Linked DNA regions of Homo sapiens: region 1 is linked to region 2. The links are contacts of gene promoters, found by promoter capture Hi-C in human tissues and cell types (Jung and others, 2019). All regions are on one chromosome and are shown on one strand. The core of a region is centred on a gene start or on the middle of the fragment in contact, and the rest is flanking DNA. Distances in the headings are between cores, read along the strand shown. Region 1 overlaps TMPRSS11A (transmembrane serine protease 11A). Region 2 holds the start of TMPRSS11D (transmembrane serine protease 11D).

Region 1 (3,436 bases), core at 240-2,739, 43 kb after region 2:
GATTTTTACTTTCCTGGTATAGAAATGGAAATAAACATTAACACTTTAGTTTTGAAAGCAACCACCTCCTAACACGGTTCTGAGTTGGGAGAAAGCTAGTTAATATTCAGGGCTCTATAGACTACAAGTATCATGATGAAAAATGAAGCAAAGTCATCTGACACATAGGCAGTGAGCTGCTTGACTACAGCCTTGGTGTTTGCAATGCAAAGAAGTTGATTTTAGCTTTGCTTTGTCACACTGTGTCTCCTGAAGGACCCACACCACACAGTTTTTTTTTGTCAAAACAAAATACAGATTCTTGACAAATTATAAATAAATCTTGGGCTACAGGATTATTTCTAGACTTAATCTAGAATCTCTACAGTTTTCTATTTATTGGTAGTCCATAAATTTTGTTTGCCCAGGAAACAATGTTTTTGCCTATAAAAAATTGACGTAAAGATTTTCCTGAGCTGTCCACTGAATGTGCCTTTCTTAAGTGCTAGTGATGGCAGCTACAGGCTGTCTGGAGCAGTGGTAGCAGGAGCGGATGCGGGAGTAGCAGTGATGGTGGTGGGTCCCCTGTGTCCCACATCCCTGAGGCAGCCGACTGTGCCACCCCCAACCTCACGTGACCAGGCAGGACCTGCTCCCAGGCCTGGAGCCTCTCCTGCTCCGGAACCTGGCCCCACATTGCCATTCTTGACCATGGCCACTGCAGGGAGGGCGTGGGGAGAAGGTGGACAGTCCTTGGAGCCCATCCCTGGGAGCCCCCCAGAGCCTGCCACCCTGGGAGCTACCACAATGGGGCTGGGCTGAGTTGCCCACTGGTGGGGGAGCAGCTTGGTCAGGCACGGAGGGGTGGGCAGAGAGGTGCTGGAGGCAGCATTGGACCCTTGCAGATGGAGAGGTGACTGGGAGACCATGGGACTACCTGCCTGCAGAGAGGAGATAGACCACTCTAGGGCCTACTGCCTACTGTGTGCTGAAAGCTGAACACTCAACAGGACAACCTGCCTGCAGAGAGGAGCTTCTACCTCCAGGGCCTCCTCTTTGCTAGGAGCTGGACACTTGTTGGGACACCCTGGCTATGAAGAGGAGCTGCCCACTGTGGGTCTCCTGTGAGCTGTTCTCTTGCTCAGTAAACCTTTCTTCGTCTTGCTCACCCTCCACTTGTCTGCATACCTCATTCTTCTTGGTCTCAGGACAAGAACTCAGGACCTGCCAAATAGCAAGACTGAAAGAGCTGTAACACAAACAGGAATGAAACATACCCCTTGCTGGCCACATTGTGGGTAAAAAGAGAGAAAAGCTGCAGCCCTTTAGGGATCCCAGACCTGGGAGCTCCCCAAGCCAGGGTTGTGACTCCCTCTTTGGGACCCTGCAGTTCCTGGCATCTCCAAGCTTCCTGGGTGCCACCACATTCCCAGGTGCCTGCCAGGGAAGCTGCTTGCAGTGAGCTTTGTCCAGCCACAGCCTCACAGAGAGACAGCACACCTGTGCCAGTGCCTGGAGCTGCCCGTCATGCTGCAGCCAGTGTGCCTGGCTGTGGGCAGTGGCCAGACCCTGTGCTCGCTCAGACAACCCTCACAGCTCCATGCCTGGGTTGGCCTTGGTGGGCATGGGATCCAGGCTGGTAGCGGAAGGTGGGCACAGTCTGCCAGGTCAAGTGGGCAGAACAAGCCCAGTGGGCCAGAGCAAAACTTGGGCAAAGGCACCAACCACTGGCCACAGAGGTTTCTGGCCAGAAAAGCAACACCCCCTAGGCTCCCATATCACTAACAAACACTGTTCTTTCTACATTGAACATTCTGAAACTTTCAAGGATCTATCTTTCTGCTACTAGTCAATCACTCAAATTAATGATTTCAGGTTTCCAAAGCATATGCACAACATAATAGTTTTCTCATTAGTAACAGCCTCTTTATTTCACATTGTGTTTTCTATTTCCTTGTATATCGTTATAATCTCTCTGTGATTTCAGGAAGAACAAACATTACCATTGGAATTTTACAGATGAGAAAATGAAGACAAAGGCATGAGCCAATTATTTGGGTGGTCCTGTGGTGACTTAGTGGAGTTAGAATTGGTCAGGTAACTCTTTTATTTTTTATTTTTTTGGAGATGGAGTCTTGCTCTGTCAAGCCCAGGCTTGAGTGCAGTGGCGCGATCTTGGCTCACTGCAACCTCCGCCTCCCGGGTTCAAGTGATTCTTCCCCCTCAGTCTCCCAAGTAGCTGGGATTACAGGTGCCCGTCACCAGGCCTGACTAATATTTTGTATTTTTAGAAGAGACGGGGTTTCACCATATTGGCCAGGCTGGTCTTGAACTCCTGACCTCAGGTGATCCACCCGCCTCGGCCTCCCAAAGTGCTGGAATTATAGGCTTGAGCCACCATGCCCAGCCTCAGGTGACTCTCAAATCAGGTTCTCCATTAGCATATCCTACCATTTAATTTAGTACAATTATTAAAATAAGCTGAAGTTTAGAAGCTGAGCCTACAAAAAACAAAAAGACCAGGCAGCCAATGAACAATTTATGCTTTACTCTGGTTTCAGATAGTTCAGGCTTTTACATTCCTGACAAATTAACTATTTATTGGAAATTACACAGAAAGCATCATGTAAATTATCAGAATGCCCATTGTTTCACAACTTCTATTCATTTGCTTCCCCATCTAACAAAGAAGATGGATTAAGCACTTGTCAGGTTCCTCCCTTCTGGCTGGGAGAGGTCCTCAGCTTTATTCCCTAAGTAGCTGACTCGTTCTCACATCAGCAAACATCTGCCCATTCCATTACCTCACATTTTTTACTTCCTTATCTGGTTTCCTCTTGAAGTGTCAGCTAGACCCTTACAAGGGCAGAGTGTCCTGTTTCATGTCTGATAAAAATCGCTTGCCCTGAATCTCTTCTGTAACACTTAGGTCTGGTATCCATTGAAATTTGTAGGAGAAATCTATACTTGTCTGTTGGAAGAAGATGCTGTGCAAACAGCTTAGCGGACGAGGGTAAACAAGTTTCTCTCTAGCTGGCTGCCTTAGAATTTTTAATATGACACTATAAGGAAGAATTTCCAAGAAACGAGTATCAAAGCCAGAATTTTTAAGATGTGTTTGACTATAGAAACCTTTTTTAATTGGAGCCTTTTAAGAAATTAGAGATTTAAATTTGATTCTTAGCTCCTTTTAATTACTGAATTCCTCAACTCTTTTTGTGTGAATTTCACTTCTATAAAGGTGAATTTGCGTACGTCACTGGAATATAAAAAGAAATTAGTTACTTAAGGTAAAGGCCATAGAGATAGACCTTGATAAAGGTTTGTTCTCCTTAATTGAGGGAAGTGATAATGGTATAATGGGCTAAGGGTGAACAAAAAAAAAGAGAAAAGTGGAACAATGTACACATAGTTTCAGTGATGTTTTCCTAGACTGTGATTTTTAAAGCATTAATGG
Region 2 (3,694 bases), core at 113-2,612:
TTCTTTAAAATTAAAATATTTCAGCAAAATACATTTTAAAATGCACTATATTACCCAAATAATATTACACTTATAGATGGTTTAAGAACAATAAAAAATATAATTCATAAACTCACTGCTTTAGTATAACAAACCTGATTAATGTTCTATGTTCTTTATTAGACTTTCTCCCATGTATAGCTTTACAAAGTAGTAGTTGATGAGTAAATACAATTTTGTGATTTGTTTTTTTCACATAAAATAAGAACAAACTCAGTATGTAAATTACTTCATAGGTTTTTAAGCTACTTTAATACATTTCTTGTATCTATTACATGAATATGAAATGATTTTATTTCTTCTATCATTGGAAGCTTAGACAGCTATCCACTTTTCACTCATATATATATATTCAAGTGCATATAACTGTATATATATTTTTATTACTTAAAATGGTTTGACTTTTGATTGAATTTTCCAATGTTCAGGAGATTTAAAATAAATTCAGCTGCACTTATTATAGCTAACACATTGTTCATGCTTTTGTTGATCCTTTCAGCATGACTTATCAGTATCATGTTTTCCTGTAGTCATAGAAAAATAATATGCATAATATATACACTTAAGTGCACACATAAACATACCAAGTTACATAATTATTTCATTGTTTTGAGATGTTAACGTGTGACTTGATTATCTCACAACTTTTTTCTTTCTTTATGTGAAAGTATAGGAAAATACTTATTCATTAACTAAAAAGAAAACCAGAGAGAGATTATTTTCTCTTAAATGTTAGCAAGAACTTTCTTGAAAATAATTCTACAACTATATAAAAAGTAGAAAAATACCGTCTTTACTTTCTAAAAGTGTACTTTAGGATTTATGGCATATTTATTTAATAGCTAGCAATAAAACTGTAATGGAAGTCAAAACACAGAATCCTCGAAAAGTTCCAAACAACACAAGAATTGTTTACTGATTGCAATTTTAAAATCCACACACCACTTTTCGAAATGTTGCACATGAGAAACAAAACCACTTCCTTATTTAAAGATATGTTGTCATAACGCTAAGCTAAGTATTTTTGTGGTTGTTTTATAAAAAATTCAGTTAAGCAACTATGTACCTTATGAAAATAATATCAAGCATATTATCTAAACAATATCTAAGAGTTTCGATGAAGTTTTCAGAGAAGTAACTAGAAGATTGCTAGACACAGTCAAAATTTGCTAAGCTTCTTTATATTTTTCCCATACTGTAAGATATAGTAAAACTTTTAAAGCTACAAAGACAAAAACAGGACTTACCTATACATTTTAATCCTTAATGAAGAGGTTCTTTTTTCTGCCTACTCAACTGCTTTGAGATTCCCACTCAAATGAATGACTCTCATGTATTACGTGTGATCTATAGTTGAGGACAAAGGAGGAAATCTCATGTTAATTAAAATCTAACTTGTTAAACAAGTTTGAGGGAATCAACAAACCAATAGTATGACTTGTGGAAGATAATTGGAAATAGACAGGGAATTTCACAAATTAGTAAGAAATTTATTTATTCTGGTAAATTGAGATTAAACACAATTACAATTGACAGGTATTTTGTGAAAGCCTGTGACTACTTCACAACTGTAGAGTCACTTTTAGTTCAAGAGGATTTGACACTTATTTTGCTCATGTTATCATATTGTTATACACCTCATTCCTCAACACAGCCAGCCAAGATCCATCAGAACATACTTTCCGTACATTAATGGGCACTACCTCTGAATTCCCTCATCTGTATGATTAAATGCAGTTTTTCTCATAATATATGAAACAGAGCATAATTGAGTAGATGCACAAAGTAAGACAAGCAAACAGAATAGTTGGAACTAAAATCCACTTTGTTTTTTTCCAAATATGATCATTTGAAAAAGCTATTCTAACACACTACTACTAGAAGAGGAGCAGACAGAAGAAGACAGTATGAGTGTGTAGGGTGTTAGGGTAAGGATGGAGAGCTCAAGAAAACAGGCAAGACTAGCAGGGAGGGGAAAAAGGGCATTCCTGTCTAACATTGCAAAGAAGCAGGATATAAATTTGGAAGGTTATACTGGGGTTACTTTGTGAGAACTAATGAATGCTAAAGAATTGGAACTTGTAATAGAATTATTACAATATTATTAGTAGTACAATATGAATTCTAGTCTTAGCTTTTTCACCAACTAATTGTGTAGCTTAAGGGAAAAAATTTACTTATTTCTCCATAAGTCACATGTATCTACTAAGAAAAGTGGAAGCTGAATCAGGAGGTCTTAGAGGACTCTCAATTATAAAATTCTATGACTTCATCTTGTAAAGCACTGACAACTAATGGTTAAATTTACTCCAATACTGCAACTTCAGATGTGTTCAGTTACTTGACTTTTTCTATATAATGTGCAAATCAAACAACAGAGACAGGAATAAGTGGTTACTTATATGTTTTTTCCCAAATATATTTGGGAAATATATTTTTTACATACAGTATCTCATGCCTGACATTCTGCCATTGATTTTTTAGCAATAAATAAATAACTATAATAAGATTTAAAAGTTTAAAAAATAAAGTTACCTAAACAAACCATTTTTAAATTTTACATGTTAACTTCAAGTACCTTTAAATATAGTTATATCATGGTATATAATTTTGTATTATGCTTTTTATACTTAATATTATTTCACAAATATATCGCTATTACTAATTTTTATTTTTAGTAGCTATATATTTATAACTTTGTATTTTTATATAATTTAAAACACAAATATGGTACCAAGATTCATTAATTATTAGCAGTTTTAATGGTTGCATTTTAAAAGGTAAATCACATTACATTGAATGGACTTATCATAAAGCACCAAAGTTATTTTCTAATGTGAAGTATTTAGACATTTTCTATTTTTTTATTGTAGATGATTCTTTGAATGACCACCTTCACAAACATAGTTTTTCTTTGTCATCCTACAGTTGAATTTTTCTTCAGAATAAACTGAAGAGGCTTATTGAGCCAAGTGATTTAAATATTTTAATGGCTTATAAAATTATACTTTTGTTTTAATAATTTTTACTAGGATTTAAAGTGTTATTTTCTGTTTTTTGCTTACAGAAATTTTCTCTAATTATGCATGCTCTTTCTTGTATGTCTTTATTTCCTGGAATACTCAGCAGCAAAGGCCTTTTTACCACGTAGGTACTTACTCATCATATGTTGTTTAGATGTCTCATAATTAACGTATTAGTGCAGATCCCAGTGCCCTATTACTATTCACAACAGAACGTGGGGATGAGTCGGGGGAAAGGCATGGGGAAAATTGAATTCAGTCTGAAAGTGACTTCCCGCATGATGAGCTCAACGCAGAAAGGGAGGTGGGGCAGGAAATTATGGTTTGTGAGGCAAAGGAATTGTTCATAACAGGGACCAGTTTAAAGATGTTGACTCTTCATCTTTAGATCCTCAGGGAGTGGCAGGATAGGCCTTGACCTATTCTCTTTTTAAGAGATTGCATGAATGAGAAATGTAGAATCACGTTATACAAAAAATATAAGAGTCCTCTGCCTTCTGGTTACAGGCTGATTTTATTCTTCTGGTTGAACAGTCACAAAACCAAGGCAGCTAGACTGAGAACGAATGACAGGAACAGTTTTCAGGGACATAGCAGAGATCATTTATATTTCTGGAAGATGAACTATGCAA

The links. The method cuts DNA at HindIII sites, captures the fragments that hold promoters and counts their contacts. A contact is called where the count stands out against the background at its distance.
Region 1: a contact is called between a fragment that was not itself captured here and the fragment with the promoter of TMPRSS11D in region 2, in 1 of the 25 tissues and cell types used here (adrenal gland).

What each region holds. Positions count from the first base shown.
Region 1 is chr4:67,925,958-67,929,393 of GRCh38, forward strand. The region is part of intron 5 of TMPRSS11A (transmembrane serine protease 11A); the gene reads right to left. Among named protein-coding and RNA genes, the nearest start is that of TMPRSS11A, 36 kb to the right of the region's middle. RefSeq lists enhancers at 1,025-1,525, 1,526-2,026. The HindIII fragment of the contact is 7,576 bases long and covers 1-3,436 here.
Region 2 is chr4:67,882,640-67,886,333 of GRCh38, forward strand. It overlaps TMPRSS11D (transmembrane serine protease 11D), which reads right to left and starts at 1,363. Exons shown (of 10, transcript NM_004262.3): 1 at 1,287-1,363. The coding sequence starts at 1,294. The HindIII fragment of the contact is 18,706 bases long and covers 784-3,694 here.